7 separate regions of the Homo sapiens genome follow, and regions 1, 2, 3, 4, 5 and 7 are each linked to region 6. Evidence: promoter capture Hi-C in 16 types of primary human blood cells and fetal thymus (Javierre and others, 2016). All regions are on one chromosome and are shown on one strand. Each heading gives the region's core, a stretch centred on a gene start or on the middle of the fragment in contact. The rest is flanking DNA. Distances are from core to core; before and after follow the strand shown. Region 1 holds the start of LRIG2 (leucine rich repeats and immunoglobulin like domains 2). Region 2 overlaps LRIG2 (leucine rich repeats and immunoglobulin like domains 2). Region 3 overlaps LRIG2-DT (LRIG2 divergent transcript). Region 4 overlaps LRIG2 (leucine rich repeats and immunoglobulin like domains 2). Region 5 has its middle 11 kb from the start of CTTNBP2NL. Region 6 holds the start of RHOC (ras homolog family member C). Region 7 has its middle 6.3 kb from the start of LINC02884.

Region 1 (3,461 bases), core at 366-2,865, 370 kb before region 6:
CTCAGCCTCCCGAGTAGCTGGGACTACAGGCGCACACCACCACACCCAGCTAATTTTTTTGTATTTTTAGTAGAGACGGGGTTTCACCATGTTGGCCAGGATGGTCTCGATCTCTTGACCTCGTGATCGGCCCGCCTCGGCCTCCCAAAGTGCTGGGATTACAGGCGTGAGCCACCGCGCCTGGCCCATTGATGACTCTTTCTTAACGACTCCATCAGAAATCTGTCAGTTAATAAACGTGCTGCTCAGTTAGTGACGAGAAATAACTGTATGTTAGTGGTTAAGAAGCCCCATAATTGCAGCATTTAATACCTGCTGTTGTTCCTAATACCACCAGGCTGACTCAGACTAAGGAGCCCTCCAAGTTCCACTGTCTAATAAAGACCTGTCAAAGTGAAAACTCAACAGTGGAAACTCCAGAATTCATTCAACCGTTGTACCTGCTTTACCTACATAAATAAGCAGAACTGATTTTTGGGTTCTTTGCCACAAGAAGATGCGCTGAAAACAAAGCATCAAATGGTTCTGCAAAAAATACTCCTCCTCTTTACAGTGAAGTTTAAATTAGATCAAGAATGCTACTTACAAAGATATTCTGAATTACAGGATCTCCTGATTCATCATAATGAACTTTTCAACCCTGTTAAGTATCAAAACTGCAGCACAAAATCAGCCAACATGCGAACTAAGGACTAAAGACAGTTCATAGGTCTTTGGCGATTGTGATTATAAAATCACGTGCCTGAGGACCACTAAGTCTGAGGTACACACCAAATCATGCAGCTCAAGATAAGCAGAAAGCACTGTTCCGTGCTCAACCCACCCCCCGCCCCACCAACCATCCAAAGTCAATGCTGGTGCCCAGGACCCGTGAGTCCTTACCATTAAATATGCCCGCCCCATTTCCTCCCCAGTTGAGGAAATCACAGACTCCTTGGCCCCAAGAATCTTAACCCTCGTCTTCATACAATTCTCCAGAAACCTTAACACCGGCTTTTTTAGGCTCCCACCACCTAAAACAAAGTTCATAAAATCCTGACGGCAGTTTCCTTCAGAGCTTAGGCTCTCGACCACACCCTCCGACCAGGCCTGTCTCCCTCCTGCCTGCCCCCTGTAGAGGGAAGGCTCCCCCTCCTTTTGGTCACTCTGCCTGGCCGCTCTACTCACAGGATAGCGGTGTCGGGGGGCAGCAAGCCCGACAGCGCCCTCCAGCTCGGTGCGGGCAATTTCCTGCGACTGCAGTCCAGGAGAGGAATGCGGCAGGAGCAGGGCGCGGGGCAGAGACCTGCTCCGGCGGCGGGCAACAGGAGGAGAGCGGTCTGGGCAATGAAGAGTAACCGAGAAAGCACTCTAGATCGACACCCCAGCAACTGCTCCTCCGGGACGCCTAGGGGCGCCGGCGCCATTTTCCCCCTCGACCTGGACGTGGCCTAGAAGAGCTGCCTGCTAGAAAAGGAGGATCGGCGGAGAAGCTCAGCAGAGATGCTCGGTGGCTGCACTGTCTCCCGAAGCCCCGGCTGAAGGCTGTACCATCTAAAGGCATGCAAGGAGCAGACGCAGCGCGACAGCGGGGTCGACGGCCTGGGACACACGGCCTGACGGACACCTCTCGTCCGCCCCTCCCCACGGCGCAACGTCCTCACGCACAGGGGCCAGCCAATCGGTGCCATAAGATGAGGTTGCGCCCGGGGCGGAACTCAGTGAGGGGCGGGGCCAGACGCAGCCGAGTATCTTGAGGAGAAGGACTTTAAAGCGTTCAGGGATTTTAGCTGCCGCTGTGGAGTTCCGCCGCTGTTCTTCCGCTGGAGGGCGCAGTAGTTCCTTAAGAGGGAATGGTGCGGCGAATAGCTGTGAGTTCAAAGTCCTGACTACAGGTATATCTACTGTAGTAGAAAAGGATCTTTTATTTGCTCTGGGCTTTAAGAAAGGGGAGTGGCAGAAGGGCTGCCTTCCAAGTCGCACACACGAATGGGTCACGGGAGCTTCTATCCTGGCTTTGGCCAGATCGGCCTCCAGAGCCGAGCTCGAGCCTCTTCTGCCCCCTGCTGCTTGGCTGTAGCCCCTGCTCTTCTGCAAGTAGGCGGCAACTGCCATTTGCATAAGATCAATATCACTCTCTGTTAATGGCCTTGTAAGCTCCTGAAGGCAGAGGCCCTGTTTCTTCATCGGTGCACCTCCACCTTTTGTTCTAGCTTGGAGTTCAATAAATTTTGGTGGGACTGCACCTGCATGTCTATATAAAGGAAATACCCTTCTCTTTGGAGGGATGCTGTCAAGGTCACTCTCAGAAAAGCAAGCGAGACAAGAGGGTGTTGAGCAGTCAACAAAGCAAAGACTGGATGTGAGGAAATTTATTTCTCCTAAAGCAGAGGCTATGGAAAACTTACTAGGAACAGTGAAGTCTGGCCATCTTATGCTCATTCAGCCATCCAAGGTTGTAAATAAGACTTTGAGAATAATAGTGATGGTTCACTTATACGTAGTGAACTTTTCAAAGGGCGTTTGCATCTGTTATCTTGTTTGCTCCTTCAGTGACTGTGACATTGGCAAGACAATTATTGCTGATGATGCAACAAGCCCCAAGAGGTTAAACCAAGTTACTCTTGAGGCAGGGGCAGGTTCGACATTAACATGGGTTTTCTGACATAAATTGAAAATCTGAGCAGGTTAAAAAGAATGATAATGCCTAGGTTAGGGTTCTCATAGAAAGTAACTGAAAGCAATCTTTCCCATGGCAGATTATGGAGTCATAATTATGTTTTTAAAAACCTTTTTCTGTTTTTTTTTTTTAATATTGAAGTATATATTGGAAACAAGGCCATATCCAATGCTACAGTCCAAACCAAACTTTTAAAGCCAAGACAGCGGAATGAAACTTACTCTTAGCCTTCTTCCCTTAGCTGTTGAGCAGACTTAACAAACTCTGGTAAGAAATCCGGCATAGGCAGGAACCTTACAAAAAAAAAAAGGAGGCAGTTTAGTTCCTTTCTACATTATAGTTTCAGAGCTTTCCTATGAAACTATACCAAATGGGGCCATTAGAAATTAATGCTCTCTAACCTGTATCCTCCGCAGTAAGTGGCTCACTGCAATCTCTGCCTGCCGTATTCAAGCGATTCTCCTGCCTCAGCCTGCCTAGTAGCTGGGACTACAGGTGTGCACCACCATGCCCGGCTAATTTTTGTATTTTTAGTAGAGACGGGGTTTTGCCTTTTTGGCCAGGCTGGTCTCGAACTCCTGACCTCAGGTGATCCACCCACCTCGGGCTCTCAAAGTGCTGGGATTACAGGCATGAGCCACTGTGACTGGCCACAAATACACGTTTTTTTTGTTTTTTTTGTTTTTTTTGTTTTTTTTTTGAGACAAAATTTCATTATTGTTGCCCAGGCTGGAGTGCAATGGCACAATCTCGGCTCACCGCAACCTCCGCCTCCTGGATTCAAGCGATTCTCCTGCCTCAG
Region 2 (3,650 bases), core at 1,119-3,618, 410 kb before region 6:
ACTCAGAAGACTATTTTGCAAATGTGTTCCACTTTGATACTATTAGCAAGAAAAACTGTACGTACCTAGGACCGCAACAGCTCTTGGTACTTCCCCTAAAACTATTTCTCACTAGAATTCTTCTCAAAGCTTCACTTTAAAAGTTTCATTGAAAGAAACAAAACCTAAAGGTTGAAATCTTATCTACTGCCACACTTTCATAATCTATCTGCCTAGATTTCTTTTCTTGCAGGATTCCAGGGTGAGAGGTGTAAAAGACTGACCTCAATGATCCAGTTTGATATTCAAGGGAAAAAAAGAGACTGATCTCAATCACAAGGGCTCCACTCTTCCTTACAGCAAAATTATGATGAAAAGGAGCCTTAGACATTAAAAAGAATGCATCTGTAATGCGTTTTTAGAAGTAAAGTTTGGCCGGGCGTGGTGGCTCACGCTTGTAATCCCAGCCCTCTGGGAGGCCAAGGTGGGTGGATCACGAGGTCAAAAGATTGAGACCATCCTGTTCAACATGGTGAAACCCCGTCTCAACTAAAAATACAAAAATTAGCTGGGCATGGTGGCACACGCCTGTAGTCCCAGCTACTCGGGAGGCTGAGTCAGGAGAATCGCTTGAACCCGGGAAGTGGAAGTTGCATTGAGCCAAGATCATGCCGCTGCACTCCAGCCTGGCAACAGAGCGAGACTCTATCTCAAAAAAAAAAAAAAAAATTTACAAATTCTTAAAATTGGTCAGACGCAGTGGCTCATGCCTGTAATCCCAGCACTTTGAGAGGCCAAGGTGGACAAATTGCTAGAGCCCAGGAGTTTGAGACCAGCTTGGGCAACATGGCAAAACCCGACTCTACTAAAAATATAAAAACTTAGGCGCGGTGGCACATGCCTATAGTCCCCGCTTCTCAGAAGGCCGAGATGGGAGAATCACCTGAGCCTGGGAAGTCAACGCTGCAGTGAGCCATGAATGTACCGATACACTCTGACCTGGGCATTACAGTAACACCCTATCTCAAATAAACAAAATTCTTTCCTCAAAGAGGTTCTGTTATGAACCTATTCCTCAAAGAGGTTCTGTTATATCAAAGAAGTTGAACATTTTAACAACAAAAACTCCCTTCTATCACATATCAGGTAATGTATCACAGCTCTTCAGTTTTTTGAGGGGGAAGATGAGGTCTTGCTATGTTGCCCAGGTGGGCCTTGAACTCCTGGGCTCAAGCAGTCCTCCCACCTCATCCTCCTGAGTAGCTGGGAGTACAGGCATGTGCTACTATGACCAGCTCTCAGTTTTTTATATTGTACAATTAATCCTATACTACATTCTTGACTGAAGTACAAGCCATAGGTGTCATGTGGGTACTACTTACCTGTGTTTGTGATACTATAGTCTTCATTTTTCCTTCTCATGTGGTAAATAACAATGACCCAGATCAAAGAAGTGCCAACAACACAGCAGACCACAACAATGATGACAATGCCAACTGTGGTCCAGCCATCATCTTCATGCCCAATGCTACTCTGGGAAGAGTCACAATTGGGGGATGAAATGACATTTAGGTAAATGTGGCCACGTTCTGTCCCAAGGGTGTTAGACATAATGCAGGTATATTTCCCAGCATCTTCTAGCCCGGCATCTACAATGATGAGAAGCTGATTGGCTGCAGCAAAGAAATGTCGTTCTGTCACCAGCAAAGGCCCATCATCTTTAGTCCAGTTGAGACGAGGGGCAGGACTCCCTCCAGCTATGCACTGTAACACCGCAGTTTCACCTCGTGTTACTGTCTTATCCTCCAGGGGTCTAATAAATGAGGGTGTCTCTAACAGGAAAACATTAAAAAAAAAAAAAATGAAAAGTTAGGCAATTTTATTCCCTAATTTCTACTGAATTAGACCAATGGGGGTATAATAAAATGAGTAATTTTATATACTCATGGGAGGATTAGAAGTTAATGTTTCAGAACAAAATCCTGAAAAAAGCCTCAATCTTTTCTCGATAATTCCAGCTTAGGCAAGCTATCCTAAGAAAGAAGTTCAGGGCAGCTGCAATAGCTGGAGGGGGTGAGCAGCGGTGACCCATTAAAAAAGATTAAAAATAACTTAAAAAAAAAGAAATTCAAAGATTTATACGCAAAGATGTTTACTACAAAATGTGTAACTTTAAAGAATAAAGAAAAACATTTTTAAATCTAGCAGAAAAATGATTAAGTAAATTATAGTCACATGATCTTTTACAAAGACTTTAATAACAAGGCAACTTGTGGTACAATATTAAATGAAAAAAATGTAGGTATATTTGACTACATAAAAGTGAGAGGGGAAAGTCTAGAATATGCTAAAATCCTTAAGTATTTGAGTGACTTTCCTCCCCTTTTCCTAATTTTCTGTATATCTTAACATGTTAAAACAATAAATGACTTATTTTTCTAAGGCTGAGGCAGGCGGATCATGAGGTCAGGAGTTCGAGACCAGCCTGACCAACATGGTGAAACCCCGTCTCTAAAAAAAATACAAAAATTAGCTGGGCGCAGTGGTACATGCCTGTAGTACCAGCTACTCAGGAGGCTGAGGCAGGAGAATCACTTGAACCCGGGAAGTGGAGGTTGCTCTGAGCCGAGATTGCGCCACTGCATTCCAGCCTGGGCAACAGAATGAGACTCCGTCTCAAAATAAATAAATAAATAAATAAATAAATAAATAAATAAATAAATAAATAAATGACTTCTTATTTTTCTGGTTATACAAGTAAACAATACAAACCAACAAACTTAAAAAAAATAATAATAATAACTGACATATAGGAAAATAGAGAACTGGAAAGTAGAATTTACCCTGGATTTGAGTTCCACGAAGAAAAGTATTGTAATAAGGAAGAAAAAACAAAACAAACAAACAACAACAACAAAAAAAACCCAGGCCAGCAGGGGAAAATTTTTAGGAAAAAAGGCATTTTACCAGAAATAGGGTTAAGAAGAACACACTGAAAAGGAAAGCAGAAACTCTAACCAGAAAACACATCTTTTTTTTTTTTTTTTGTATTAAATTTTTTTTGAAAATGAACTAGGAGCAAACAGTTAAATAGTCTTAGGTTCCTATCAAGCAATAAGTGAAGCAGCATCAAATGGCTGGGATACTCCTAAAAGAACAGTGGAACTCTCAATGCAAACTCAGTGAATAGTAAACACACCTACATGAAACAGAAACCTTACAGAGAGGGACTTAAAAAGATAAGCTGATAAAGGAATTTGAACTTTCAATTATTGTGACAAGGATGCCTACCTAATTTTGCCCTATGTATTTTCCCACATTTCAGTTATCTGACCCACTAATTCCTAGACTGACATAACCTTGCATAAAATTGTGAAATAAGATAAAGATCTAAGAATCACAGAGGTAATCTCAAACTTATTTTTCTTGCTCATTAAGACCAAGAGTAGCTCCCAAAGACTCCAACAAAAGCAGGGACCCATGGAGCAGTAAACGTACCTAACACTGTTAGGGAAGCATTTGCTGAGAGACCTCCTGCTGTATTTTGTGCCATGCAGCTATAGATTCCCATATCTTCTATTTTCACATTGGCAATAAAGAAGACGTCATCCTCGGGCATGACGTGCATGCGTCTTTCTCGAGCCGCAGGAAAGTCAGTACCACCATCTTTC
Region 3 (3,672 bases), core at 842-3,341, 350 kb before region 6:
CTCACTGCAAGCTCCGCCTCCCAGGTTCACGCCATTCTCCTGCCTCAGCCTCTCCCAGTAGCTGGGACTACAGGTGCCTGCCACCATGCCCAGCTAATTTTTTTGTATTTTTAGTAGAGACAGGGTTTCACTGTGTTGTCGATCTCCTGACCTGCCCACCTCGGCCTCCCAAAGTGCTAGGATTATAAGTGTGAGCCACTGCGCCCGGCCCAGAGCCCGAACTCTTAACCACTGCTATTGTGGGGAGTGATAGGAAATGAGGCTTACTGCATAAATAAATATAGCACTTGCATTCCTCTATGTCCAACCCTATGAGGCAGGTATATTTATTTTCCCTATTTTACAGATGAGGAAACTTAGTCTAAGAGAGGTGAAGTCATTTGCCTAAAGCCACATGATTAGAAAGTGTCAGAGCAGAGATACGATACCCATCTACCTGCACTTCATCCACTACAGCTGCACTTCTTACCTTGATTGTCTTATAAGGAATTTTCCCTTTACTCTGAGCTCCTGCAGGCATCCTGCATGAGAGAAGGCTAGCTGCAGGAATGGTGAGACGTTTTATTTTTCCATGGAGGAAGCTTTAGTTTGACGTAGGGGGATAGGATTGCCATGGGATCTAGCCTGTGGAACGTAACCCCTAACCAAGTGTTGGGGGCAAGTTGCTAGGACGTGGAGCTGGAAGTTTGTTACATGCAATTGTGAGGATTCCTTCCGAGCAACCCAAATCCAGTTCACTGCCTGATCTAGGCAGAGGCATGAGGGAGTTGTTAATAGCATGACATTTTCCTCAACATTTTAAGGTTTAAATTTTTTTTCCTGTCAATAAGGCTAACAGGGTAATCTGCACTGGCAGCTGCATCCTTCCTGTTTGTCCTCCTGAAGCAGTTCCAGCTGACCAGCCACTGGGAACCTGCTGCTTAAGCAGCTGGTAATGAACTGCAAAACAGAACAAGAAGAACCAGGCAGGCAGGGGTCAGCACCCTCCCGGGACAGTAAACTGGCCTTGCAGAGAGGAGCCAAGGAAGAATAACACAGGAGTACAGCTGATGTATGCATATCTAGCTATTCTCTGCTCTGGGCTTATTTCACTTTTGCAAAAAATAGTAAATGCTTGTAAACAAGCTATACAGAAGAATATTAAATAAAAAGTGAAACTTCCCCTCCCAGACACCCCACCCACGAGGTATAGCCATGGTTAATTTAATCATTTGTTTATCTTTTTGTACCTTCTCTGTGTAAATCTTGGTATAAATGTGAGCTTAATTTTTTGTTTTTTATTATCTAATACAAAGTGGGATTTATATGTTGATGTTCAGTTTGATAACTAGCTCTTTAAATTTCTTTTTTTTTTTTGAAGATAGGGTCTCACTCTGTCACCTAGGCTGGAGTGCAGTGGCATGATCATAGTTCATTGCAGCCTCGACCTCCAGAGCTCAAGCGATTCTCTCACCTCAGCTTCCCAAGTAGCTGGGGCTACAGGCCTGAGACTGCAGGCACATCCCACTACACCTGGATAATTTTTTTTTTGTTTTTAATTTTTAGTAAAGTCTTGCTATTTTTTTAATAGAGTTTTGTTGGTCTTGCTGTGTTGCCCAGGTGGTCTTGAACTTCTGGCTTTAAGTGATCCTCCCATCTCAGCCTCCCAAAGTGCTAGAATTACAGGCATAAGCCACATCACCCAGCCCCGCTTCAAAATTTTTAGCAATTTACACTTCCAACAATAGTGTATAAACCTAGCCAACAGTGACTCGTTTTTTAGTTAAAAACAAATCAAAACATGCTAGTATGTCAATTGAACAAATATTTCTCTCACTCCCTTTCCTTCTGTCCTTTCCTCTGTTTTCTATTACATTTCCAACCTCTGACCCGTGCTTATTACACAGAATTCCAGAAATTTGTCAGTAGGTGAGAAACAGGGGAGGGAGAGTTTATGGCTAATCAACAAAGATACACAAAGGTGCAATATTACTCTGTAAAAGGTGATAGCAGCTTTTACATATATATTTACAAGACTTCATAGGTACAGCTCATTAGCTGGCAAATAAAAATGTACAAGCAAGACACCTTGCTAGGTGTGGGATCTCATTTGATCCTTAGATAATAGTGCAATTAGGAAAAGCACGCATTATCTCCCCATTTTACATATGATTAAAAAGAAATTCAACAAATGTGCCTGTAAGGTCACAGTGCTAGTCAAATATGGAACTCTGAGTCAATATTCTCTTCCCTACATTATATTCACCATTTTTATATGTGTGTAAAATATAAGTGTGTATATAAACTCTAAAGTGCACAATATGTAATCCGTAAGCACATTTGTCACACCCTTTTTTATACCTGTGGCTATATACTAAATGTAATCTGGGTGTGTGCAATACAGTATATATAAAACATGGAAGATGGTGCAGGAGGCACTAAGAGGTAGTTAAAAAAAAAAAAACCCACCTAAATGTGACCTGGCAGGCCCTGACAAATACACAGGTGGGTCAGGGACTAAAGAGCTCTGGGAAATTGTTGAATTCTAAATGAGATCTCTTCTAGTCATGGTTCTGGAACAAACAATTTATAACAGGGGTTAAGTGCATGGAGTTTTGAAGTCAGGTACATATGGGTTCAAGTTCTGTCTTAGCCACATACTAGATACGTGATCTTGGACAACTAAGTTAAGTTGGACAACTAAGTTAAGAAATAGGCTGGGCGCAATGGCTCAGGCCTGTAATCCCAGCACTTTGGGAGGCCGAGGCAGTCGGATCACGAGGTCAGGAGTTCGAGACCAGCCTGGTTAACATGGTGAAACCCCGTCTCTACTAAAAGTACGAAAATTAGCTGGGCGTGGTGGTGCACACCTGTAATCCCAGCTACTCAGGAGGCTGAGGCAGGAGAATCACTTGAACAGAGGAGTCGGAGGTTGCCATGGCTGAGATTGCACCACTGCACTCCAGCCTGGGTGACAAAGTGAGACTCCGTCTCAAAAAAAATAATAATAATGATAATATTCTGTGTTTCACAAGATGAAATGAGACAATGTATGTAAAACATCTTGCAATGTGCTTGAAACATAATTCTCAATAAGAGTTATTATTATTTGTATTACATGTTTGACTTTATCATTCTTGTTTAGTTTCAACATAGTTCAGCTGTATGTAAAACTAAGCATATGACTGCAGAAGTGGCAATCATGAAAGATTAATGCAATGGTTCTCAGCTCTGTCTGCTCATTAGAATCACCTGGCGAGCTCAAAACAAAATGCTTATATCTAGGCCAGTGAAGTCAGAATCTCTGAAGGCATTGAGAATCAATGGATTAAACAGAGGCTTTGAGTGTGAAGTTTTCAGGGGTACTAAAGATCAGTAAGATTATGTGAAAATCAAGGCTTTTAGTGAGTCCTCTGAATTTTCATTATGACTGTAGAGGATGGTTGTTGGTTGATCCCTTTCCACTTTCCCAGGAGTCCTGTTTTACATTTGGACATTTTGAGTCCTGGAAAAGTTGATTCTTTCCCTGATTTCAGGGGTCAAGGAAGAAATCCCTAAAGGCAAAGGTAATATTGCATTTTATCCACCGCTATTGTGATTGGTGCATATGGCCAAAGCTTTGTAATCAGGGTGATTCTCAGGACTGTTGGAAACACTGGGACAAAAATGCTGTCTTTCTTGCTGAGCATAAAG
Region 4 (3,620 bases), core at 31-2,530, 390 kb before region 6:
TGATTCTGGCCCAACATTTACAAGCTATGTGACTTAGAGAAAATTATTTAAATTTCTCTGAACCTCAGCCTCCTAATATGGAAAACAGCAGTATCATCCTAGTATTTGAAAGTACCTGGCACATATCAGATAATAAGTATTAGTTTCTTCTGTCCAAAGTCATGTAGCAAACCAGTAACAGTGAACTGGTCTCCTACCACGGCAGTTCCCACTACACAACCTGCATCCTTTCGAATGAGAACTAGTAGCTCTGGTGTATTGTCAAAGTCAAAGGAACAAGAAAATGACTGCTCTCCTGACACTAGCAACTGTGTTTTATTCCACAGCAACTAACACAATAAGACATGCTTTGATGCTTATGGGATTAACTCAGAATTAAACTACAAACTGAATTGCCTACGACAGGCTTGGGATTTTTATGGGGATGGAGACAAATAAGACTGCCTTGCTCTGAGGCATAGGACAGAAGAACCACAAAATGTTAGCATACAGAATTTGCAGACTGATTAGTTGTTTTAATTAATTTGCTTTATTGTACTAAAAAAATCAGTAACAACAACCAAAAAGGAGAATGGATATACTTACAATGTCTGAAGATTGGAAAGAAATCTAAATACACCATCAGCAATATGAGTGACTCTGTTGTCTCCTAAATTCAATCTCTCCAATAAGCTCAGACCCACAAAGGCAGATTCATCCAGGCGGGTCAGCTGGTTATAGGACAAATCACTGAAAACAAGAAATGTGGAAGGTAAGGAATTCATTGTATTTGGTTCAACTTACAATTCTTATTATATCTACATGGTAAATTTAGAGCTTTCTACAAATTTCTAGTAAAGAGGGATGTTACATCTCATTACTGCCCATGGGAATGATTTATTCCAATCTGCTCTAGTCTTAACTGCCTCCAGTGAAATGCTATCCAACACTTACAGTTCGGATAGTCTTTGGCAGAACTCCCATGCATCAGGGCTGATTCTTTCAATAGCATTCTGGCTCACATAGAGCTGCTGTAACATTCGCAAGCCATACAACCACCCCTTGTTTACTCGTGTAAGGTTGTTGTGTTCCAGTTCTCTGCAGAATTAGAGAAAGAGAAGAAAATACGTTCCAAAACAAGGCAGTTCAATAACTAGCTTTAAATCTTAAGTTTTTCCCAGAGAAGCATATACCTTTGTTCAACCCAACTGAGCTGACCAATTCTATTCAATAAAAATGAATATCTTATTTAAGATTTAGTGCTTGGCCGGGCACAGTGGCTCATGCCTGTAATCCCAGCACTTTGGGAGGCCGAGGTGGGCGGATCACAAGGTCAAAAGATCAAGACCACCCTGACCAACATGGTAAAACCCCATCTCTACTAAAAATACAAAAATTAACTGGGCACGGTGGCGCGCGCCTGTAGTCCCAGCTACTCGGGAGGCTGAGGCAGGAGAATCGCTTGAACCCATGAGGCAGAGGTTGCAGTGAGCCGAGACTGTGCCACTGCACTCCAGCCTGGCAACAGAGCAAGACTCTATCTCAACAACGACAACAAAAAAAGAGATTTAGTGCTAGAAGGTAGTAAGACTGTCTAAAATAGGAGCTCTACAAAACCAACAGGCCAAGTGGTATAGTATACCTGTTTGGATAAATTCTGGTAATTTTCATTAGCCAAAACATTAAGAATATAAACTTTTTGGCCGGGCACGGTGGCTCATGCCTGTAATCACAGCACTTTGGGAGGCCAAGGTGGGTGGATCATGAGGTCAGGAGTTCGAGATCAGCCTGACCAACATGGTGAAACCCCATCTCTACTAAAAATACAAAAATCAGCCGGGCCTGGTGGCACACGCCTGTAATCCCAGCTACTCAGAAGGCTGAGACAGGAGAGTCACTTGAACCTGGAGGCAGAGGTTGCAGGAGCTGAGATCACGCCATTGCACTCCAGCCTGGGCAACAGAGTGAGACTCCATCTCAAAAAAAATATATATATATATATAAACTTTTTAGATGAGAAGTTTGTAAGAATTATTTCAAAATTGATCAGTTAGCTAACAAAACTTTAAAGGTTTTATGTACGCTTACTTCACATCAGTGACCAGGGAATGAATGAATGTATCTCTATAATCAGAACAACTACCCTAGCCATTCGACACTGAAAAGTCCCAAACAGACTACTTTCCTAATAATCACCTCTAGTCCCGAGTACTTACAGTTCTTCCATGTTATTCAAGCCAAAAAATGCTCCATCCTTAAGTTTGCTAATTCCATTCCGCTGCATTTTCAAAGATCTTAAGGAGTCAAGCCCTTGGAATGTAAGACCTTCCACAATTTTAATTCTGTTTCTTTTAAGTTCCCTTTAACAAAAATAGTTTTACAGTCAGGAAATTGGTTTGCTAAAATGTTCTAACAGTAATTAAATTAAAAAGAAAAAGACCCTGTAAGAAAAAACTATCTTCTTATAATCCGTCTATTTCGTTACTCACAAGAATTGGAGGTGAGGCAGCTTGAAGATCTTAGGTGGAATCATGCTCATTCGGTTACGGTTTAACTTTACCACTAATAAGGAACTTGATAAATTATCGAAGCAACCAGCCTCCAAGGTGGTTATTCTGTTATTACTTAAATTCCTAAAATAAACAAGATAATAGCAAAAGAAAAAATTTAGTAAAATAAAAATTCTACCACTAGAAAGCTGCCAAAAATCTATGTCTAAGCCCCCAGCTCTATCACTTAATGCCCATCCACAACTTTATAAATCATTTAACTGCTCTGTTTCTTCATCTACAAAATTAAGAAGCTACCTACTTCATTTAGGTTGTTACAAAACAGCATGTGTGAATATGCTTTGTAAACTGGAAAACACTGGCACACATGCTAATTATCATTATATACAGTAAGCCATTGTTTAACAAATCTCTATTTACCTTTTAGAAAGCTTGGTTCAAAAAAAAACAAACAAAATTGAATCTCAAAATTACCCTTGATATCTACCAATATTTTCTGACAATAGTGCGATCTTTCTTTAGGGGGCTTGTGGGGTGAGTGGCAAAGCCAACCACCCAACACACCAACTCTAGGTTTGTCTCACATATGCATATAAAAAGCACAATAAATAACCAAATATTTTTGGATAGGTACTGATGAATAATAAACATGTGCTTTATTTTATTTTATTTTTATTTATTTATTATTATTATACTTTAAGTTTTAGGGTACATGTGCACAATGTGCAGGTTAGTTACATATGTATACATGTGCCATGCTGGTGCGCTGCACCCACTAACTCGTCATCTAGCATTAGGTATATCTCCCAGTGCTATCCCTGCCCCCTCCCCCCACCCCACAACAGTCCCCATAAACATGTGCTTTAAAGTAAATCTAATTTAATCTGTGTTACTTACAGGTATTTAAGCTGCATGCGAGGAAATGAAGATGTCTTGATTTCTGATATTATATTTGAGCTGAGGTCTAAACTCTCCAGAGCAGGGTAAAACTGGAGTGCCTGTGCATTTATTTCTGGGATTATATTATGGACTCTGTAAAACAAAGATTATAATGAAGCTGCTGCCACTGATCCACCCCAGGCCACAAAAATGTTAATTAGAATCAACAATATATGTGCTTTAAAAAAAAAA
Region 5 (3,762 bases), core at 1,192-3,691, 320 kb after region 6:
GGGCACCAGGAGTGGGGAAAGGCCAGGCAGTAGGAGCAGACACCCTCGAGCCTGTGGAGGCAGCAGGAGCTTTCCTGGGCCCCTGAGGGTGCAGAGTACAGAGACACCCAGGTCCTGTGTCTGGGAGGGCGGGGCTGTCACCCAATCCCTGGAGCATGCATGCAGCTCCGGTGGCATCTCCTTGCAGTCTGGGGTGGGGGACTCCAGGTCCTCACTGGACCCCTCTCTGCCCACCCCTGCATGCCCAACCACCCTCCTCCTCTGCCAGTGGGTGGCTCGGCTGGCCTCACTGTGGCGGCCCCCAAACAGTGGGCTCTGGGCATGCTCCCACTTGTCCCTGGCTCCTGCTGACTCCCTTGGAGCACAGCACTGCCCTAGGCCCAGCTATCCCTCCTCCCCCTACCCTTCCTGCAGGGGCGCCACGCAAAAGCCGTGATGCGGTGCCAGGGTCCAGAGTTGCAGAAGCTCCGGGCCTGGGAGTGGGTCCCACCTGGCCATGCAAGGGTGGGGGCGGTGCAGTCAGTTGTCTCCAGACATGGGGCACAGGGGACCCACCACCACCATTGCTGCTCTCACAGCTACTTCTGCCACCACCACTTTCACCTCCCTGCGGCAGTTGGCGCAGTGGCAGTGGCTGCTCCAGATGGCCCACCACTGACATCAATATCACCCACAAGAGAGAGTTTGCCTTTAATGTATATCAGACAACTGTATAAACATTTGACCAGAAATTTACATGATTTATGTAATACAAAGTTCTATTCCAGTCCAGTTTTATAACAATTTTTCTTTTAAAACAGAAAATTTAAAATTTAGTATCAGTTAATACTGTTTGTAGAAAGCCATGGACCATCCCATTTCAAGGAATTCCATTAGACTTCATCAGTCCTGTTTCTTTCTTTCTTTTTTTTTTTCCTTTTCTTTTTTTAGATGGAGTCTCTGTCACCCAGGCTGGAGTGCAGTGGCAGTGGCGTGATCTCAGCTCACTGCAACCTCTGCTTCCTGGGTTCAAGCGATTCTCCTGCCTCAGCCTCCCGAGTAGCTGGGACTACAGATGTGGGCCACCACACCCAGCCAATTTTTGTATTTTTAGTAGAGACGGGGTTTCACCATGTTGGCCAGGCTGGTCTCCATCTCTTTACCTCATGATCTGCCCTCCTTGGCCTCCAAAGTGCTGGGATTACAGGCGTGAGCCACCGTGCCCGGCCACTCCTGTTTCTTCATTAATTTCTAACGCCACTTCTCTCCAGACCCTGCCTCCCATCTTCTCTTCCAGACATAACCCCCTTCTTAAAGCAAATTCATTCAACAAAATATGTTGAGTACCTGTGTTCTAGGCACTAGGGTTACAGTGATGGGCATGATGGTTGTAGTTGTCCACTTTGCATTGCCATAAAGGAATACCTGTGACTGGGTAATTTACACAGAAAAGAGGTTTATTTGACTCACGGTTCTGCAAGCTGTACAAGAGTGGCACAAGCATCTGCTCAGCTTCTGGTGAGGCCTCAGGAAGCTTTTACTAATGGTGGAAGACAAAGGGGGAGCAGGCATGTCACATGGCAAGATAGGGAGCAAGAGAGAAGAGCAGGAGGTCCAGGCTCTTTTTAATGATCAGATCTCATGGTAACTAATAGAATGAAACTTCAGTCATGACCATGGGGAGGGCACCAAGCAATTCATGAGGCATCCATCCTCGTGACTCAAATATCTCCCATTAAGCCCCACCTCCAACATTGGAGATCACATTTCAACCTGAGATTTGGAGGGGACAAACATCCAAACTATATTAATGGCTATGGTTCCTTCTTCAAAATTCCTGTAACTTTGTCATGCAGAGCAAGTTAATTTCTTATTGCCCTAACCTTTCTTATCTCAGCTCTCTTCAGGGGCCCTCACTTTTTATAGCCAGATAAGCCCAAGAAGTCACCTTCTTCAGCAAAGGAATTGATTTGTACTGTCCTTGGAGGTCAGCTGGCTTAAACTGCGGCCGGCTTCTGTGATAATATTCTTATTTATTTTCCTGTTGTATAGGCAAACAGATAATGAGAATATTGTAGGTGAAGTACCATGCTATTAGTAGAAGTATTGACTAGGCATAGCCTTCAGTGGTGTACGAGGAAAGAGACCATTCTTTAAGGAAGAACTGCTTGACTGTTGTATAACATAGTGGAGCGGGCGTCACTTTAGAGCCAGACCTACCAGCTGTGTGATCTGGGCATGTCGCTCAAGTACTTTGAGTTTCAAATCCCTTATCCATAACATGGAGGAAATAATAATGTGTTTCACAGGGTTGTAGTAAAGATTAAATGAGATACCAAGCCATTTATTGATACCTTTTTCTCCCTGCCACCAATCTATCACCAAGTCCTGTCAGTTTCACCTTTTACATTTCTCAAATCCCTCTATGTCTGTTTCTACCACCACCATCACCTTGTTCTGCCCATTTTCTTGTCATGACAATAGCACTGGCAATCTAACTAGTCTTCCAGCATTCCTTCTCACCCCCTCCAGCCTGTTCTCCGTAGAGCAATCTGAGTAGATTTTGAGAAAACACAATCTGATCATGTCATATCACTTCCTTCCCAATTAGAACTTCTCAGTGCTCTTAGGATAACTGGATTTACAAAGCCTTGACTGCTGCTTATCTCTCCAGAATAAGCCAGAGCAGATCTGCCCCCTCACTCTCTGTGCCCCAGCCAACTGGTGACAAAGACTCTCTCCTTGACCAAACTTTAGACAAGCTGCTAAGTGAAATAAGCCAGTCATGGAAAGATAAATACTGCATGATTCCACCTGTGTGAGGCACCTAAAATAGTCAAACTCTCCCAGGCTGTTGGAATGAAATAAAATAAAAGAGTCAAACTCATAGAAGCAAAGAGTGGAATGCCAGGGGCTGAGGGGAGGGGGAGGTGGGGAGTTACTAATCAATGTGCATGCATACAGTTTTAGTCCAGCAAGATGAATAAGCTCTAGAGATCTGCTGTATGATATCATACCTATGGTCAACAGTAATGTTCTGTACACTTAAACATTTATTTAGAGGTTAGATCTCATTTTAAGTGTTCTTACCACACGTACACAAAAGCAGGGTGCTGGATGCCTCTGTTCTGGGACATGACTTCTACTTCCACCTCCTGCACAATTCTCCCTGAGACACTCCCTGCTCCCTGTTCCCACCTTGCAGCTTCTCCTCTTCCCCTTGCAGTCTCACTCCTGCCTGCAAGTGAAACTGCACCCTTAAGATTTGCAAACACCATCTTGTTGATAAACTGTGTGGATATGCCTGGCCCCGAACTTGTGCCCCATGAAGCCTTAGACACTGTTTTTCTTTTCCTTTTCTCTTGGCGGCCCTGAGGACATCAAGCTTTCCTGCTCAGTCTCTCCCATCTCTGCTCGTTCCAACTCTTTGTGGCCTGTTTTTTTCTTTTTTCCTTTCTTTTCTTTTTCTTTTCTTTTTTTTTTTTTTTTTTGAGACAGAGTCTCACTGTTGCCCAGGCTGGAGTGCAATGGCACGATCTCGGCTCACTGCAACCTCTGCCTCCTGGGTTCAAGCAATTCTCCTGCCTCAGCCTCCCAAGTAGCTGGGATTACAGGCATGCACCACCATGCCTGGCTAATTATATATATATATATATTTTTTAGTAGAGATGGGGTTTCTCCATGTTGGTCAGGCTGGTCTCGAACTCCCAACCTCAGGTGATCTACCCACCTCAGCCTCCCAAAGTGCTGGGATTACAGGCGTGAGCCACCCCACCCAGCCCA
Region 6 (3,472 bases), core at 366-2,865:
AATCTACACATCACCTTATCTTGAGAACTTCACCTGTTGTTCAGGACTGGGTATCGCACAGCCCACACATGCCCACACTACAGCAATGACCTCCGGTATTGTAACTGTCTACATTAGGAGTCAGTAGGGAGTAGGAATTAAGAACAGGGGCTCTAGAGTTCAGCTGTTTGGGTTCTAGTGTCAGACCCAGCACTAGCTCTGTAACCTCTCTGAACCTCAATTTGCTTCTCAGTAAAATGGAGATAGCTACCTCATGGGATTCTTGTAGTTAATGTATGTGGACCCAGGTCCATGTAATATGGATTCAATAAATGTTAGCTATCTTGAAATTGCATTCCTCATTTAGACTCTAAGTTGTTTGAAGGCAGAAATGGATCTTCCGAACATAGCTCTCAGTTCACCCTCGAGAAATGTTCATTGAGTCAGTTAAGAGGCCTGGGGCCAAACTGCTGCGGACCTGTTTTCACATTTGTCAAATGTCTGGATTGCACTTCAGATATTTAAAGTCTGTATGACTCCTAACATTCATTCATTCATCAAATATTTGTTGACAACCTATTATGTGCCACTCACTCTGCTAGACAACGGGGGAAGGGACAGGCTGGAGGAGCCCGTGAGGTAGCAGGGCCAGACCACCAGTTTGGAGCCAGACAGGCCCGGCTGTGTGAATTCTTGCTGTCACAAGTCAAAAACAGTTGTGTAAGCCACTTGATTTCTCTGAACCTCAGCTTCTCTATGGGCAAAAGGGGATGGGTATATTTTCCCCAGAGATCTGTGATGAATATTGAAAGGGTTAAGCTGTGTAGTGTCCCAAGCACAAGCCAATGAAATGTTGGTGGACGTCCTCATTCTACTCCCACCTCCTCAGCTCCCTTACAGGGAAAGGAGATACGCGTGTAGGTAAATATCCTATGCGCCAAGTCAGACCTAGGAGTGGGAACAGAATTCACAGCTGGGATCCAGAAGCATTTCTAGGCGCACCCTTTGAGGAGTAGGTAGGAATTGGACTCCTGGAAATTCCAGGCCCAGGGAAGAAAGCGAATTGTGAGGAGGAACGGTGGTCTGGGTCTGAACGGCTCTGAGAGGTCTTCAAGTTTGGGGGATGACGTTGGGCTGTACGATCCTAGGAACAAGAGGGTGGACATCTCCCCCCAACCAACACACCCGCGCCGGGCCCTGGGACCTCCCGGCGGATACCCTTTCCCAGTCCCGCTTCCCGCGAGGTCCCAGGTGCAGCAGGAGCGGGTGGCCGCTTGGCCACAGGAGGGCAGCAGCGGCCCTTCCTGACCCCACCCCGAGCACCTCTTAACTTTCCCGACGCCGGTCCTCCCCTAGGGGATTGAAGGCTGGGCAGAGTCTGAGTCCACCCGGGTCGTGCTCCCCCCGCTCGCCCGGCTCCTCCGCAGTCCAGGAATCTCCCCGTGGCTCTCCCCGACCTGGAGGGGTGGACGCCCCTGGCCCCCAGTCCCCGGCCTGCGGAGGGGGCCGGTGGCTGCGGCCCTGCGCGGGGCCGGGGCGGGCCGAGCCAAGGGCCGCCCCCGGCCGACCCTCCCCCTGCCGGGCCCGCCCTCCCCGCCGCGGCGCTGGAGGAGGGCGGGGCGGGGCCCTGGGGTCAGTCTGAGCCTCCGGCACCGGCCGCGCAGCTGGAGGCGGCGGAGCGGAAGGTACCCTGGGCCGGGGCTGCGGGCGGTGGGGCGTCTTGGGAACTCGTCCCCAGGAGAGCACTTTCCCTTCCTCGCTGGCCCGGAGATCGGGGCCCGTGCGAGGAGGGGCTTCGGCCTGGGCGTGGACCCCGTTCCCTCCAAGCGGAGTCGGCATCCGGGCTGGGCGGTGGTCGGACCGCGTCGGCCCCTCCCCGGGCTGCAGCGAGGGGGCCCGGACCTGCCGGCAGGGGCTCTGGCCTCCTGAGGTCCGAGTCGGAGCCCCTTCCCTTCTCCTCCCAGCTTCCCGGAACCTGCCCCGCCGGGCGAGGGGCGAGGGAACTTCAACTCAGACGCCCCAGCCCCCAGGGTGGGCGGCCGCAGGGGACCTAGAGTGGGATGGGGTGGGAATTCCTCCAGGCCAGGAGGGAGGTATGGCGGGAATAGGGGCGGGATGTGACCATTGGGGCCTGCCACTGCTCGGCAGGGTCTGGACGCCGCCCTGGACGGTTCCTGGAGCCCGCTTGTGTTGAGGATAAGGGAGATGGGGAAGGATCCAACTCTGTGTGTGTGTGTGTGTGTGTGTGTGTGTGTGTGTGTGTGTGTGTGTGTGTGTGTGTGTGTGTGTGTGTGTGTGGTGTGTGTGTGTGTGTGTGTGTGTGTGTGTGTGTAGAGAGAGAGAGAGAGAGAGAAAATGAGATTGAGAATCCTCCTTCTTCATACTCGAACCAAGAAAGAGTATCCTGGGGTTTGGGACTGGGATCCCGAGGCCGAGTCCCGCCCTCACTCTGGTTTTAAAGTTGAGAATGCAGTATCTCTTGGTATCTCCAGAACGGATTCCTTCCCTAGGTGTAGGGTGGGCCGGCAAAGTCAACCGGCCGCTCTGGATCATCTGGGAATTCAAGAGAGCGATTGGAGAGAGGTCTGATGTAGCCACACTGTCTTGTCTTGGGGAAGGCCCCAGAAGTTCCAGGCTCCATTCCAGGCCCTGTGTGGGGCTCAGTTGCCCCTCTTAAGGGGTCAGTGGGACAGTCCCTCTGGGGCTGCCTCTCACAGGGAGTTGTCCATGCCATCTTGGCCTTGGGCCTAGTGTCCTGGCCTGGGCTGCCTGCTGTTCTGGCCCAATCATAGCCTGGAGGGAAAGTCTTCTAATTGGGCTGGAGGCTCCAGGTCCCTTAACGCATGCCTCAACCCCGGGTTTCTGTCCTCTGCCTCCCACCACTCTGGTGCCGTCTGAATTACCCTGCTGGGGGGACAGCAGTGGCATACTCATGCCTAAGTGACTGGCTTTCACCCCAGTAGTGATTGCCCTCCATCAACACTGCCCACCCCAGGTTGGGGCTACCCCAGCCCATCTTTACAAAACAGGGCAAGGTGAACTAATGGAGTGGGTGGAGGAGTTGGAAGAAATCCCAGCGTCAGTCACCGGGATAGAATTCCCAAGGAACCCTCTTTTTGGAGGATGGTTTCCATTTCTGGAGGCGATCTGCCGACAGGGTGAATGCCTTCTTGCTTGTCTTCTGGGGAATCAGAGAGAGTCCGTTTTGTGGTGGGAAGAGTGTGGCTGTGTACTTTGAACTCCTGTAAATTCTCTGACTCATGTCCACAAAACCAACAGTTTTGTGAATGTGTCTGGAGGCAAGGGAAGGGCCACTCAGGATCTATGTTGAAGGGAAGAGGCCTGGGGCTGGAGTATTCGCTTCCTAAAGGGCAGTGTGAGGTGGTGGTGGGGTGTGGGGAGTAGAGGCGTTCAGTCAGCCCAGTTTGACAGGATGTGGGACTGAGAGAAAAAGCTAGGTTTGAGGCTGAGATCAGGTTACCGTCGCTTTCTT
Region 7 (3,614 bases), core at 700-3,199, 340 kb after region 6:
TAATCAGGACTTCTGTTTTTTGAACGCCTTATACCTTACACCTTTCACTGAAAACAATGGCTAATGCAAACTCATTTTGTCAAGCCAAAGATCCCTGAGTTTCCCCACCAGAGGATTATACAATCAGCAGCTCCTTTTTGTTTCAATAACACATTTTTATCTCCCTTATTTTGCTGGGGGTGCAGGAGTTATGTTTGGACACAGATAGTTCACTACTAGGGAGAAGCTTCTACTTGGGGAGGACTTAGCCCTGGAAGGGAGATAGAAGCAAAAACCAAGTGGATTCCTGGGGTTTTATTCACCTACATCAATCAACAAGTATTTATTGAGTACCTGGCACTAGGCCAGGTATTGGTGCTAGAGCAATGCATACGATAAAGTCACAAAAGTTATGGAGTTTTAGGTAGGTGGACAGAGAAGGGAGCGGATATTCATGCAGATATTCAAATGAAGTGGCAAAGTGAGCCATGAACTTCTGGGGAGAAGCATACCCGGCAGAGGGACTAGCAAAGTGCAAAGACTCTAAGCAGGAGTCTCCTGGGAGTGTCTGAGGGACACCAAGAAGGCCAGTGTCCAGCAGAAAGGCAAGAGTGGAGAGTGCAAGGAGGAGCAAGGTAGGAGGTGGGAGGGGAGAGGCACCACTGGTTGGATCATGACCTTCCAGGCCATTGGGAGGATTTTGGGTTTTGTTCCAAGTGAGACAAGGAGCCACTGGAGGGTTTTCTGTAGGAAAGTGACATGATCCAATTTACATTTTAAAAGGATGACACTGGGTGCTGGGTTGAACATAGACTTCAGGGGGCAAGGGTGCTACCTGAATACCAAGGCAGCTCTGTCTGTCTGCATCTCTTGAACAGTTTTGGCAGATTCTATTCCTCATCTCTCCACCATGGTCAACAGGTGTTAGTCCATTTTGCATTGCTATAAAGGAATACCCGAGACTAGGTAATTTATAAGGAAAACAGGTTTATGTTGCTCATGATTCTGTAGGCTGTACAAACATGGTGGTGGCATCTGCTCAGCTTCTGGTGAGGCCCCAGGAAGATTTTACTTATGGCAGAAGGCATGTCACATGGTGAGAGAGGGAGCAAGAGAGAGATGCCAGGCTCTTTTAAACAACCAGCTCTCATGTGAACTAATAAAGTGAGAACTCACTTATTACCGTGAGGACAGCATTAAGCCATTGGCGAGGGATCCACCTCCATGACCCAGACATCTCCGCCATGAACCACCTCCAACATTGGGGACCACATTTCAACATAGATTTGGAGGGGACACACATCCAAACCATGTCAGAGGTAAAGCTTTGCCCCTCCGTCAGTCCTTTCTGCTCCTCTTACTCACTCTCAATCATAGCACCATGTTTCTCAAAAGTTGCAAATTGGTTGCAGTAGTGGATTTGATAGTTGTGAGAATGTTGGCCAGAATTAGTTATGTCCGAATACCAGACCAGCCAAGCCAAAATGCCGCTATTATACTAGAATAAAGCAATTTCTACTTTACGGACAAAGTGGCAGAGCCATAACTCATTTACTCACTGACTCATTCACTCATTCTTTCAGCTCTCATTGAGCACGTAGTATGTGCATAAGCCACTGCATTAAGCCTCTGGAGAACTACACATTTTAAAAAAGCTCCCTAAGACATAAACTCTGCCCTTGAGCAAACTCTTAAACTAGTTACTAGCATTTATCAATCACTTTTGATGGGTAAGACTCTGGTTTAAGTGCTTTTTATGTATTGCCATATTTAATACTCAAAATTAATGTGATTAGTTAGGTACTATTTTACTATTTTAAAGATGAAGAAATCTAGGCACCTAGAAGTTAAGTAACCTGTTCAAGTTGGTTATTAGGTGAACTGTGATCTGAACCCAGATGATGTAGCTCTAGGGCGTAGATGACTGCTTCTTAGGCTAGATGGATAGCTAAACACATAATTATAATGCAATGTGATGAGTACTCACTAGAGCTACTGGGAACTTTTAACATTATTGAGGGGCAAGGCCCAAAGCCTTTTCAAATTTCTAATCCAGTTAATTTCGCTGTAGTATATAACTTCTCCCCATAAAATTCTGTGAAGTACAACTAAGATTTTTAAGTGACCCTTCCAGATTCTTAATACAAGATTAAAGTAATTTATAAAGCTATTTTCTGGCTAAGGACCATTCCATTTTTGGACTGTTTCACTCACTCATCATTTCCATCACCAGATGATAGTTTTTTTTTCCGTTGGGGGTGGGGTGGGCAGTCCATTCCTCATAAAAGAAAAATTAAAATTTGTTATGTTAAGCAGATGCCAACAAAGTTGGTTTGGGTTATGAAGTCTTGGGGGTAGGTGGGGGCTCGTCTTACTCACTATCTCATCTACTCCTTCTCTGTAGGGACTTCATAGCTGGCTGGAATCAAATTTGTGCCTCAGTAAAATGACAAATCAGTACAAGTTGGGGGACCTTTATGGTCTTTTGGGAACAGCTGAAACCACAAATCTTACATCCTAGAATATCAAGGGGGATATATTACTGGATTCCCAGTTGCTGGGAAAGCACAGACTGAGCCACAAACTAACTGCCTGGAGAAGACAAGGAAAGCTTCAGGGATTAGTTTAGATTTGAGCTGGGCTTGAAAAATATGTTGATAGTCAACAGCAATAAGGTGAGAGAAAGGTGTTCTAGTAAAGGAAAAGTTTGTATAAAAGATCTGGGGAAGTGTCAGCCAACTGGACTTTCTGGGATCATTCTATCCTGAAACACCGTCTTTTGGGTGGGACAGAATCTGAGCAGCAGTCTCTGTCACATTTTTTCCATTTTGTAGGATATTATAATGACACTTTTTTTTTTTTTTTTTTTTGAGACGGAGTCTTGTTCTGTCGCCCAGGCTGGAGTGCAGTGGCGGGATCTCGGCTCACTGCAAGCTCCGCCTCCCGGGTTCACGCCATTCTCCGGCCTCAGCCTTCCAAGTAGCTGGGACTACAGGCGTCCGCCACCACGCCCAACTAATGTTTTGTATTTTTAGTAGAGACGGGGTTTCACCGTGTTAGCCAGGATGGTCTCGATCTCCTGACCTCGTGATCCACCCTCCTCGGCCTCCCAACGTGCTGGGATTACAGGCGTGAGCCACCACCCCCGGCCCTTTTTCTTTTTTTTTGAGATGGAGTTTCGCTCTTTAGCCTTCCGGGGTTCAAGCGATTCTCCTGCCTCAGCCTCCCGAGTAGCTGGAATTATAGGCACTTGCCATCACGCCCTGCTAATTTTTTTGTATTTTAGTAGAGATGGGGTTTCACCATGTTGGCCAGGATGGTCTTGAACTCCTGACCTCAGATGATCCACCTACCTCGGCCTCCCAAAGTGCTGGGATTACAGGTGTGAGCCACTGTGACCGGCCTAATGATACATTGTATATTTACTCATGAATTCTCTCTCTCTGTCTCTTTCTTTTTTTTTCTGTCTCTCTAGCTTTATTGAGGTGTAACTGACATACAGTAAACTACACATAAAGTTTACCATTTCATGAGTTTAAAACACATCCCCAGAATCGTCTCCAAAATCAAGACAGTGAACATACTCATCATCCTCTGGAGTTTCTTTGTATCCCTTTGCCATCTGTCTTTCCTAC

Evidence for each region. Contacts are between HindIII fragments. The CHiCAGO score rates a contact against its expected background, and 5 or more counts as called.
Region 1: a contact is called between the fragment with the promoter of LRIG2 here and the fragment with the promoter of RHOC in region 6, in 15 of 17 cell types (endothelial precursors, neutrophils, M0 macrophages and 12 more). The highest score is 11.3, in endothelial precursors.
Region 2: a contact is called between a fragment that was not itself captured here and the fragment with the promoter of RHOC in region 6, in 2 of 17 cell types (endothelial precursors and activated CD4 T cells). The highest score is 5.7, in endothelial precursors.
Region 3: a contact is called between a fragment that was not itself captured here and the fragment with the promoter of RHOC in region 6, in 10 of 17 cell types (megakaryocytes, neutrophils, endothelial precursors and 7 more). The highest score is 13.0, in megakaryocytes.
Region 4: a contact is called between a fragment that was not itself captured here and the fragment with the promoter of RHOC in region 6, in 1 of 17 cell types (endothelial precursors). The highest score is 6.2, in endothelial precursors.
Region 5: a fragment that was not itself captured here is called in contact with the fragment with the promoter of RHOC in region 6 in 6 of 17 cell types (naive B cells, endothelial precursors, total B cells and 3 more); the score reaches 9.6 in naive B cells.
Region 7: a contact is called between a fragment that was not itself captured here and the fragment with the promoter of RHOC in region 6, in 2 of 17 cell types (naive B cells and endothelial precursors). The highest score is 6.1, in naive B cells.

Annotation. Positions count from the first base shown.
Region 1 is chr1:113,071,352-113,074,812 of GRCh38, reverse strand. It overlaps LRIG2 (leucine rich repeats and immunoglobulin like domains 2), which reads right to left and starts at 1,615. Exons shown (of 18, transcript NM_014813.3): 1 at 1,168-1,615. The coding sequence starts at 1,406. It overlaps LRIG2-DT (LRIG2 divergent transcript), which reads left to right and starts at 1,711. Exons shown (of 3, transcript NR_103777.1): 1 at 1,711-1,874. RefSeq lists enhancers at 446-495, 1,095-1,154, 771-1,302, 1,335-1,644, 1,303-1,836 and 1 more. The HindIII fragment of the contact is 20,110 bases long and covers 1-3,461 here.
Region 2 is chr1:113,112,588-113,116,237 of GRCh38, reverse strand. It overlaps LRIG2 (leucine rich repeats and immunoglobulin like domains 2), which reads right to left. Exons shown (of 18, transcript NM_014813.3): 14 at 3,478-3,650; 15 at 1,362-1,811. Among named protein-coding and RNA genes, the nearest start is that of LRIG2, 41 kb to the right of the region's middle. The HindIII fragment of the contact is 4,473 bases long and covers 132-3,650 here.
Region 3 is chr1:113,054,438-113,058,109 of GRCh38, reverse strand. The region is part of intron 1 of LRIG2-DT (LRIG2 divergent transcript); the gene reads left to right. Among named protein-coding and RNA genes, the nearest start is that of LRIG2-DT, 17 kb to the left of the region's middle. The HindIII fragment of the contact is 3,015 bases long and covers 584-3,598 here.
Region 4 is chr1:113,093,331-113,096,950 of GRCh38, reverse strand. LRIG2 (leucine rich repeats and immunoglobulin like domains 2) reads right to left here. Exons shown (of 18, transcript NM_014813.3): 4 at 3,387-3,521; 5 at 2,469-2,612; 6 at 2,196-2,339; 7 at 934-1,077; 8 at 586-729. Among named protein-coding and RNA genes, the nearest start is that of LRIG2, 22 kb to the right of the region's middle. The HindIII fragment of the contact is 3,284 bases long and covers 1-2,922 here.
Region 5 is chr1:112,382,886-112,386,647 of GRCh38, reverse strand. No RefSeq gene overlaps it. Among named protein-coding and RNA genes, the nearest start is that of CTTNBP2NL, 11 kb to the left of the region's middle. RefSeq lists enhancers at 1-312, 313-848. The HindIII fragment of the contact is 1,851 bases long and covers 1,516-3,366 here.
Region 6 is chr1:112,705,270-112,708,741 of GRCh38, reverse strand. RHOC (ras homolog family member C) reads left to right here and starts at 1,615. Exons shown (of 6, transcript NM_175744.5): 1 at 1,615-1,664. RefSeq lists a silencer at 1,176-1,895 and an enhancer at 3,155-3,204. The HindIII fragment of the contact is 12,151 bases long and covers 1-3,472 here.
Region 7 is chr1:112,365,136-112,368,749 of GRCh38, reverse strand. No RefSeq gene overlaps it. Among named protein-coding and RNA genes, the nearest start is that of LINC02884, 6.3 kb to the right of the region's middle. The HindIII fragment of the contact is 1,286 bases long and covers 1,307-2,592 here.